2 separate regions of the Homo sapiens genome follow, and region 1 is linked to region 2. Evidence: promoter capture Hi-C in 16 types of primary human blood cells and fetal thymus (Javierre and others, 2016). All regions are on one chromosome and are shown on one strand. Each heading gives the region's core, a stretch centred on a gene start or on the middle of the fragment in contact. The rest is flanking DNA. Distances are from core to core; before and after follow the strand shown. Region 1 has its middle 35 kb from the start of TRIL. Region 2 holds the start of CHN2-AS1 (CHN2 antisense RNA 1).

The links. Contacts are between HindIII fragments. The CHiCAGO score rates a contact against its expected background, and 5 or more counts as called.
Region 1: a fragment that was not itself captured here is called in contact with the fragment with the promoter of CHN2-AS1 in region 2 in 6 of 17 cell types (M2 macrophages, M0 macrophages, M1 macrophages and 3 more); the score reaches 8.4 in M2 macrophages.

Annotation. Positions count from the first base shown.
Region 1 is chr7:28,920,365-28,925,819 of GRCh38, forward strand. No RefSeq gene overlaps it. Among named protein-coding and RNA genes, the nearest start is that of TRIL, 35 kb to the right of the region's middle. The HindIII fragment of the contact is 1,025 bases long and covers 1,199-2,223 here.
Region 2 is chr7:29,206,097-29,211,542 of GRCh38, forward strand. It overlaps CHN2-AS1 (CHN2 antisense RNA 1), which reads right to left and starts at 2,874. Exons shown (of 3, transcript NR_120522.1): 1 at 2,717-2,874. All of the region lies in intron 1 of CHN2 (chimerin 2), which reads left to right. The HindIII fragment of the contact is 4,492 bases long and covers 1-3,247 here.

The DNA of each region.
Region 1 (5,455 bases), core at 461-2,960, 290 kb before region 2:
CTAAAAATGGAAAATAAAAATTTTTGAGGGACTGGGGACAGCTGTCTTTCCTCCAACCCAGGAGTAAGGAGCCTGCCAGGATTTGGATCCCATCTCCTTCTCCTGCGTCTCCCTCTGCGATTGATGAACACCATCTTATTTTTAACTAGAACCCAGTCAAGCAGGAGACAATTTTTTCTTGTCTTAGTAGCCCAGTAGCTGTTGTTCCTCCTTAACAATCGACTCATCTATGCCTTGTGGGCCTGCGACTCCTGGAGCTTACCCTGTTTCTTTGAATTGCTAGTAAACTGCAAACCAAATCTATGATTCACCCTTACCAAAAGTTTTGCAGAACTTCATTTTCATTAGTGTATGTTGTGGACTCATCTCACGTCTGGCCCCATTTCATGTCCCTACACTTTCCTTTCCTCCCTTTTCCTTATCCCGCACCCCAAAACCAATGTCTATTTTATATCATGTTATTTTAAACATTAGATATAGATTTCCAAAACCACCTTAAATGTTTTGATTCAAAGTTCTAATATACATACATGGAATCAGAGTGATTTTTAATAATTGTGGTGTACAAAACACTATGTGCCTTTTTGGATTGGCTTTGCAGGAAAAGACATTTTTTTAAATAAGATCAACAAATAAAGGAATAGCTAAATTGGAACTTGGAAGCAGAATTCCAAATTTCTTGCCTTAACTGGTGGCTCACACACTCCTCAGCAAGTAACGAAAATATTTTAGATCTGTGGTCAAGTAAGCTCCTCCATTTCATAAGTTCAAAAGCAAGAAAAATATCAGGGAATTAATACAAATTCTACTAAAACTTTTAGAGTACTCTGTTTTAGAGGGGCTCTATGATTGCTAATATTTAAAGCTATATATTGTGAAGTTCTAAAACGTAAGATGAATTACAACATTTCCCTAACCCACTTATCACATTTTCAGGGCATGTTACATTTCAGAGGGGCATATATTTGGTTCTTATAATTTGTTTACTTTGATTGTTTCATTATAAAAGAAATACAAGTTTGTGTTAATAAATGAATGATAAAGTAAAAGACAAAAGTCTTCATCCTCTTGCCCTGTCCTCACCTTAATCCCCAGAGGTTACGATTGTTAGCAACTTGGTAACTATCCTTCTAGATCTTTTCTATGTATAGATACATACAAATGCTTGAGCATTGATGTAATGTATATTATAAAAAGAAGCTTTCTATTTCAAATGGATCCAGTGGATACAACACAATTTACTTACCCATTCGGTTATTTAACATTTTCAATGTTTTCTCCCATTTGATTTCAGAGCTGAAGGGGAAAACAGAGAGTGGCATGTTAGCCCCTTATTAACGCCCATCATTTTGTATGCTCCTGTCCACATTCCATATTGAATCCTAGCACATCAGTGGATCATTCACTTACTCTCTCTTTCATCTACAGCAGGAACGTAATAAGAACAAAGATGGTCATACTCTAACAGTCACATCCCAGTGGCTTCATGTTCCCTGGACAGGACTGCATTCACCAATATGTATCCCAGTGCTTGTGATTATTATAGTACTGTGTGACATTTGCATTACATCTGTAAATTCCCAGAATGGCCACCAGAGGGAATCAACCACCCAGCGCATTCAGAGCTATTGAGTCTAGCGCCAATGACACTGGCTTAGCTCTTATCTCGAATGTGTGTCTGCTTACATTGGCTAGCATTTTTTAAAATTAGATTATATTTTTAAAATGGCCATTACTGAACTCCTCTCCAATTAATATACGGAACAATGCAGGCAAAGTGCTTCAGACAGTGCCTGGCTAAATAAACACAGTAAGTTATTATTGTTATTGTCATTCATAAGCCATTTTAAAAAGAAGAGAACCATTCCTTGCTGTGCTATTATCCCTAACAAATATTTCCTGGCAAAGGCTCATCTATTTAGTAACAGTCCAATGCATAGTTACCACGCCGCTCCCCAAAGTGCTTTGGTCTTGGTTGCTTGATTAACTTCAGGATAAATGAGTGGCCCTAGCCAAGAAGACTTTTACAATTTTTCATTCTTATTTTCTGTTAAATATATGTTGCCTTATATACCTCTCTCTCCCCCTCCGCATACAATAAAATGCATTTCATGAAATACACACATTATATAGACTCTTTCATCAGAGAATGGAGGGAGATATTCTGGAAAAATGCATTTTTTAGTTACCACCATCGCCAAGATAGACTTTTGGACAATATTAAGCTTGTTGTCACTCACAAACCTTATTCAAGCATGTCCATGCCAATGATGAATGGATACTTTCTCTAATAAGTGCTCACAAATACAGCTATGGGAGGATTCCACCAAATTTACCTCAATTTCCATTATTTCAATATGCATTTACACATATTCTGATGTTTATTGACCAATGCTCCGTAAAAATCCAAAGGCAAATGAGTGAATGATGGTAAGCCTCGAGACCACACGGTGGCGCTGTTTCATCATACTTGAGAGAGGCTTTAGCACTTTGCAGGAGACCACGGCCCCCTGAAAACAGAAGACCATGAATACAAGAATTGCCTTCCCTGTGTTACTCCAATTTGAATGAGAGAACCCAGTAGAGTTTAACATTTAGCATTAATTCGTATCTAAACAACAAAACAGCACCAAAATGCAAATGTGAGGAAATCATTGCTGAAAAGTGGGTTGTTGGAGAAATGATACATAAATGCTTCATGCTGTTAATTTATGCTACCACTTTTCATAGCAATACTGCAAGCTCTCCCTAGATGTGCGAGGTGTTTTCACTTTCATGCTTATATTTTGTTCTCCACATGATCCAGTGAAGCAAGCAAGGGGGCTTTGATCTCTATTTTACAGCTAAGGAAACTGAAACCTTTCCTGGCACCCAAAGATTGCAAAATCTTCTGCAGCACAAAAGAGTTTTTTGTGTCCTAACATCTCTCTGATGCTTGTGAGAAAGTGTAAATTCCAGTAGGCACTTTACCCAAGCCACCTTGAGGCTCTGGTTTTTTAGTTCATCCCACCCCAGGCCCAGGCAGATATGGTTGAATTCTAAGGTTTCCATTCTTTCCCATTGACCAGAGCAGGCTGGCACCCAAAGTGCTGATCAGGAAGAAGGCCCCTCTTCCACCACCATCACAGAATCCCCAAGGAGCTTGTCTTCCATCCTAGGCATGTAAAATGATTTACTATCTGCGCCCTTCAGCTGTAGAGCTGAAATCTGCATCCTGTACCTAGTCCCTCATGATAGGGAAGAGGTAGAAAACAAAACACCCTCCACTCATTTCTTATTCATAGAGCAGCCAATGTAAAATATGATTACATACATGATGGATTGGATCCGACAGATAGTATAAAAGGCAAGCCGGGGAACATTAACTAGGGAATGGATTTTTCAATGATTTCCAATGTCTCTTGTAGTCAACAGTGAAGGGAAGGGAAGGGATGAGACAAATGCAAAGAGACACACACATAACTTTCAGTATCAAACTTTAAAATACATTTCACTCTCAGATAAAGGCTTATTGCGTGTTTATCCTATGCTTTGCTGTGTGCTTTATATACGTGATTTCTTATTTATTTATTTATTGAGATAGGTTCTTGCTCTGTTGCCCAGGCTAGAGTGCAGTGGCACGGTTTTGGCTCACTGCAACCTCTACCTCCCAGGCTCAAGCAATCCTCCCATGTCAGTCTCCCTAGTAGCTGGGACTACCGGCTAATTTTTGTGGGTTTTTTGTTTTGTTTTTTGGTTTTTGGTTTTTGTTTTTTTTTGTAGATACAGGGTCTCACCATGTTGCCCAGGCTAGTCTTGAGCTCCTGGACTCAAGTGATCCCCCCTGCCTTGGCCTCCCAAAGTGCTGGGATTACAGGAGTAAGCCACCGCACCCAACCCGATCTCTTTTAATTACCTTTGTTCTACAGAAAAGATTAAAAAAAAAAAAGAGGTTCCAAGAAGGAAGTAAAGTACCTCAAGTTTACCCACCTGGTAAGTACTGAGCAGGACTTGAATCCAGACCTTGTCTTGCACACCCAAACTGCTCTCCTCGTCCATGAGCCGCCCTGCTTGCTTCCCGGACCCTGACGCTATGATGGCCAGGACCTACCTGTATGTTTATAAACCACTATCAGCTGCTGGCCACTCTAAATAGGTGGCACCTGAGACCAGACGCAAACTCCTGAGAAGCGAGTGAAGCTGAAGCCTGAGGCCCTTCTTCCTCACAGGCCTCTGTGAGTTCTGTGAGGAGTCATCGAGTTTTCCAGAAGAGAGGAAGCTGGGTTGCAATCAGAAAGCATTTCTAATCAGCCATTTTTGGTAAATTGCCTAAAGAGATCTTCATGAGAAAAAGGATCTAAACTTACAAGTCTCCAATAATTTTTTGTGATATCATTTTTCATTCTAAAGAAATGTTCACTTTCCTGCCTAATTTTGTATTTGTAATTGTATATTCTTTTTAAAAGAAATCATATGAGCTTTGGGCTTCACAAAATCAGGATCTCCCCTGCCTGTGCCTTTTTCCAGTGCTTAAACATTTTGCCTCTCATCCCCTAAAAAGCTAAACAATTTATTGTGATCTTGAAGCCATCATTGCTGGGCATAGTCCTGAAATATAGTTTTCCTGCAAAAGGAGAGGGAGGGGAGGAAGAAGGAAGGGAAGAAGGAAGGGAAGAAGGACAGAAATGCACAAGATTATATGTAGAGTTAGTAATTCATTTAATGTTAAGGAAGGAAAGTCACCACCATTACAAGCGCCTCTTTAAAAAAAAAAAAACACCCTTCCACATAGACTGAATCTCGTCTTCTCTTATGAAGGTTCTAAATTCCTAAAGATGGCTTCAGTGGACCATCCAATAATCAGATAAAAGGTCCACATTGCCGTGGACACGACATGGCTAAAGACAGGACCTAGACTTTGTTCCTGGGATTTTGTGGCATATTGTTAACACAAATCACCTGATTACGTTAGCCAGCAATGATCAGTCATGTATTCTTTCGCCTTCATCCTGCTTCTCCAGTTAGAGGGTTTTGAAAATCCCTTAAACAATTCAACCACTTGTTACGGAAGGTTTCCACAGCCTCTTGTCTCCTTTGTCACACAGAAATTCCCCCAAATCATCTTGGCTGCTTACATCTACAGAGCTATAAACGGGATGCGAGTCCTCAGCGGGGAACACCAGAGCCCTCTGAGGGTGGGGAGCTTGGCGTCATACCAACTTCCTGGACCCACACTATCTGGGTTCACTAGTTATACTGATCAGACTGGCAAGTCCTCCTATGGGAAACCTTGTTTTGCGCCCCTCCATAGACATCACCTTTGTTTTTAGGTAGTATTGATCACCCGAGGATTCGGGTTCAGGCCCACGTCATTCTAGGGTCTCAGGGTCAGAGCAAGTAAGGTGATAAAGTAAAAGGGGTTAAATAATCTTATAAACACATATTCACACTGGAGATTTCCATTTTTTCTATTTCT
Region 2 (5,446 bases), core at 1,624-4,123:
ATTTTTGTTTTGTTCACTGCTGGATCTCCAGTGCCTAGCACAGTGTCTGACATATACAAGCACTCAGTTACTGTCATAGGAGTGCAACTGTAGCCCCTTCCCTCCTTTATCTCTTGTTTGTAAATCAGTTCTGCAAGGACCCTGTCACCAGTTCACATTAGTCACAGGCCTTCAGTAACTTTTAGAAAAAAATTTTTTTCCCCCAAGATGGAAAAAACTCTATCGCCCAGGCTGGAGTGCAGTGGCATGATCTTAGCTCACTGCACCCTGCGCTTCCTGGGTTCAAGGATTTCTCCTGCCTCAGCCTCCTGAGTAGCTGGGATTACAGGTGCGTGCCACCACACCCAGCTAATTTTTGTATTTTTAGTAGAGACAAGGTTTCACCATGTTGGCCAGGCTGGTCTCAAACTCCTGACCTCGTGATCCACCTGCATCGGCCTCCCAGAGTGCTGGGATTACAAGTGTGAGCCACCGCGCCTGGCCTAGAAATTTTTTTTTTAACTTATTTGCATGTACTTGCAACAGGAGACTCTGAGCAGAATCACATGAATTTATCTGAATCAGGACTTTTTACCTTGATTTGTGGTTCACAAGCACATTTCAGGAGTGAATAGTGAACACTGAAGAAACATAAGTAGTAAAGCTAGAGTTCAACATGGAGAGCCACAGGGAGATTCTCAAAAAGCGATGCTGTATACATGCTACACCAGGGATGAGCCTGGAAAACAGTATGTTAAGTGAAAGAAGTGAAAGACTGCATACTATATGATTCCACGCATATGGAACACTCAAGATAGGCAAATCCTAGAGACAGAAAGTAGATGAGTTGTCCCCTGCGGCTGAGAGGTTTGGAGTGAAATGGGGAGTGACTGCTAATAGGTATGAGTTCTTTTTGTGGTAACGAAATTGTTCTAAATTTGATTGTGGTAATACTTAATAGTTACACATATCTGTGAATAAACTAAAAGTCATTGAATTGTTTGCTTTTAAACAGGTAAATTGTAGGGTGTGCGATTTATAGCTCAATAAAGCCATTACTTTAAGAAAGCATAGAAATTGATATTGTAAGAAAGAGAAGGTGAATCAGTCATAACGTGAGCAAACAGAAAATACAAACCCATAGGTTAAGGCCTTCCTGGACAGGATGCTTGCAATCAGATGGGAGGCATTTCAATCCCTACTCACTGATAACTTGCTCAATACATGGGGGTGCCCCTTCTCTTCCCCTTTTCATTTCCACATTCATCTTTTTCTGCAGCCAGCCCCTGACCTTCTCAGATAGTTCCATAGAGACTTGCTCTCTAGGGCTGGTTAGTTCAGCCTCCACTAGATAAATGCCTCCCTTCCCCAGTATCCCCAAAAGGCCATGGCACCCTCCTTCTCACTGAAGAATGAGGGAGAGCAGTAGGTCCCCTCTGCTAATGCTGGACAAAGCAATTAGTGCATTTCTTATGACTAGTTAATTAGCTTTTTATCCAGCTTTTTAAACTCTGGCCACAACTCTATGGCCTCGAAGTAGAGTGTGAGTCATCCAGGAAGCAAGTTTCTCTACTGTGTGCCTGATGCTCCTGAGTATTATTCGCACAGTGATGTGTCTGTGGCTGCCTCCATATGCCCCCACTTAGATGGATGCTTGTACAGACGTTTCCAAGGATATCATCTGCTGGCTCTTTTGTTGTTTCTAATCAAAGAACCGACACCCTTTGATCACAACAGATCACGGTATTGTACTACAAAGACTTTGTTAGAAAGACTTAAATTTTACACGCTTGTAGCTGTCACAGAGGTTCTGACAGTATTTACTTTTACCCCACACAAGTAAAGAAAAAATGCATTTGATCAGATCACATGGAAAATATGAGTGATTATAAATAGTAAATTTTCTAGAACCATGTATTGTTCACTGTAAGGAACCTAGTCAATGAACATTTTTTAATACTTGCTGGTTTTGAGTGCCAGGTTGTTGCAAAAGTCCTCTTCTTCCTCCCAAGTATAGAGACTCCTCTAGGTAGATAAACTTTCTGTTAATTGGAGGAAGATTGGCCCTGTCATGGAATTAATGAAGCTAAAGACAGACGTCTTTGGGGAACTGAGTCCCTGGGTAGCCACTTTTTGGGCAGGCTTCAGTATCCAATGGCCTGCGTGAATGTATAGGATGGCTGGCTCCCCTTCAAGTTGTTCATGGCCTTTCCTCCTTTTTCCCATAGGACACCTGAGACAGGCACCCCCACAAAATACAAATAAATGCCCCTTCACGGGAGTGTGAAGACAAAGCAAGTACTAGAACTTCTTCCTTAAGGTCTCATTCAGAGTGTTTTCCTGGCAACCCCTAGAGGAAGTGGGCACGGGCTACAGTGACTCTGTTGTTCTGTGTCTTCCCTCAGGTGAAATCTGGCCACCCTGGGCACCCTATGACAGCAGCACACGTGGGGATGATATTGTGCCTTGCGCTGGCCTCTGCGGTTCCCCTGACATATCAGATTTTAGACTTTGCTCCTCCTGCTTTCTAATGTCACGGGCTAAGCCATCTCTAACAAAAGACTCACTGTTCCTGGGACCTGCTGTTCACTCAAACTTTTCTCATGCTAACACCAACACATATAACACATTCACACCTCCTCACATCCTGACCAGACCATTCCAGGATGCAATTATTGTAAGGATTAGGACGTTTCACCGCAAATACAGAAAACTCTAAAACAAAGTGCTGAGGTACCGTGGTTGTAGACACTGCAGTATCTGGCTCTGTCTCCTTCTCTTAGCGCTGCCCTCTTGGTCGGGGGGCCTTGTCCTCAGCCTCACTGTCTTTACAGGGTCAAGATGACAATAGCAGTCCCCTGGGATCATATCTGAAACAGAGAAGGGGAAATCTCTTCCTCCTCACCCTGTGGAAGATAAAAAAGACTTTCTCAGACACACCTGCCCCACCCCCACCCCCCAGCAAAGTTCCCCTTGCCTCATTGGCTACAGCTTTGTCATATGCTTAGGTGTGAACCAATCACTGGCAAGGGAATAGGATTCCCTGGATGTACTTAGTCCAGTTGTGACCCCCTTCCTGGAGTGCAGATGGTCCAGCCTCTCCTGAAGGGGTGAGGAGGCCTGAACGGAACAGGGTTCTGTTAAGGGGGAAGAGGGAACCAAGAACATCCGCCACAATTATGTCATGAATGTCCTCAGCCCTTAGAGTCTCTAAGGCCACCAACAAAACACTGAGAATTCCAAGACGCATGGCCTCTCATAGTCAAAAAGCTTATTATAGTCTTAGTTGAGAGCCAAGCAATTAGTGCAACTATTCACTTAGTAATAATATCACTCCCTGAAAAAAATGTTCTGCTAACCTACTACATTAAGATGACTGACAACTCATATGTTGTTTTCACTTGTTAGTGCTTTATGGTTTGAAGCACTTTGTTTTATGGTTATGAAAAAAATATAAATCCATTAATTTAAAACTGGATAGAGTCTTTAGCTCTAATGAGAAGTAGGACAGTGAGGGTTGAAGGTTTTGATTCTTGACAGGCTTTAACATCCCTGCGCCTGATGTAAGTTGGAACTATATTATTAGAAAGGCAGGGAATAATAGTAGATGATTCAGCCCACTGCCGCTTGCTATGGGAGGGAATTTTTAAGGCTTTCATTTATGAGAAATAGTGATCATTAGCAGTTCTTTGTTTTTAAAACAGAGATTCCTACAAACGGTCAAGTCCAGTGGAATAAATGTATTGGTGCCTAATTGGAGAAATAATTTCAGGTTATTCCCAAGGAAAAGGGAACAGGCAGAGGGTTTTGGAGAGCAGATTCCTGTTTTTCAGTTTTGTGATGGGCCAGGGTGCGTAAAGATCACTGGATGAGGGGTCACGTGACCTAAGTCTATGGTAGTTCTTTCTCAGCATTTACTTTTTGTGTGTCCAGGGGCAAATTATGTTATCATTTTGTGACTTTGATGCTTATGTGTAGAATTATTAGTTTGGCCCAGATCATCTCTGAGGGTCTTAAAATTTTATGATTTTTCTGATCTGCCTGTTTCCTCTTGCCAATTTATGGTGCCTTGGTGGTCCCCCAAGGGAACAACCCTCTTGTGTGTAAATCAGTTACACTCACATATACACATATTTCAAATAGCAATTACCAGTGGCATCATTTGTTCCAGGCACCCAGCCTGTAAGACATGAGGACTGTTGGGTGTCTGTACCGTAATTGCTTTTCAGTCTTCACTCTTAGTAAGCCCAGAGGTAGTCCAAGTATGCTCCAAGGCGGTATCATACAAGCCTTTTGGAATGTGACCTACACTATGAAACCCAGCACGTACACACACAGGCACACACACACACCCCACACACACACCGTGCACACACCAATACTTCATTCCATATGTACTTATTATTTACCATGTTCCAGATTTTAGAGATACTGCAATGAACAAAACAGACAAAAATTCTGGACCTTGTGGAATTTCTAAATACAGACAGACAATAAACCAAAGGAACTATATATAATTTGTATATATAAATGTGTATCTTATATATATAATTATATCTAATTATTAATTTATATGGTATATTAGAGGGTGATAAGTTCTATGGAGAAAAATAAAGCAGGAAGGGAGACAGGAAATGCTGGGGGTAAGGGGGTCTGAGTGTTAAGTTTAGTGGTCAGAGAAGGCTTTACTGAGAAGGTGACACTTGATGGTGAGGGAGCCAGCCATGCAGATATTTGGAGAAAGTACATTCCAGACAGAAGGAACCGCAGCTGCAGAGTCCCAATGCGAGAGTGTACCTGGTGTGTTCCAGGAACAGAAACAAGGCCAGTAGAGTGAGAAAGGGGTAAATAGGACTGGCAGGGAGGAGGAGGCGGATCATGGAGGGCCTCGTAGGCCGCCCTAAGGACTTTGGCTTTTACACTGAGATAGGTTGTCCCTGGAGGGTTCTAGAAGACAGTGGCATGATCTGACTTAGGTGTTTTGTTTTTTTTTTTGTTGTTGTTGTTGTTGTTGAGACGGAGTCTCGCTCTATCGCCCAGGCTGGAGTGCAGTGGCGCGATCTCGGCTCACTGCAAGCTCCGCCTCCCGGGTTCACGCCATTCTCCTGCCTCAGCCTCCTGAGGAGCTGGGACTAAAGGCGCCTGCCACCATGCCCAGCTAATTTTTTGTATTTTTTTTTTTTTAGTAGAGATGGGGTTTCACCATGTTAGCCGGGATGGTCTCGATCTCCTGACCTCGTGATCCGCCTGCCTCAGCCTCCCAAAGTGCTGGGATTACAGGCGTGAGCCACCGCGCCCGGCCCTGACTGAGGTTTTAACAGATCCATTCTGGCTATTATGTTGAGATTAGACTAAACACAAATGCTGCATGTTGGCACACACACACACACACACACACACACACACACACACACACACAGAAACAGAAGTTCCACAAAGAGAGTTCATCCTGTTATATATGATGTGC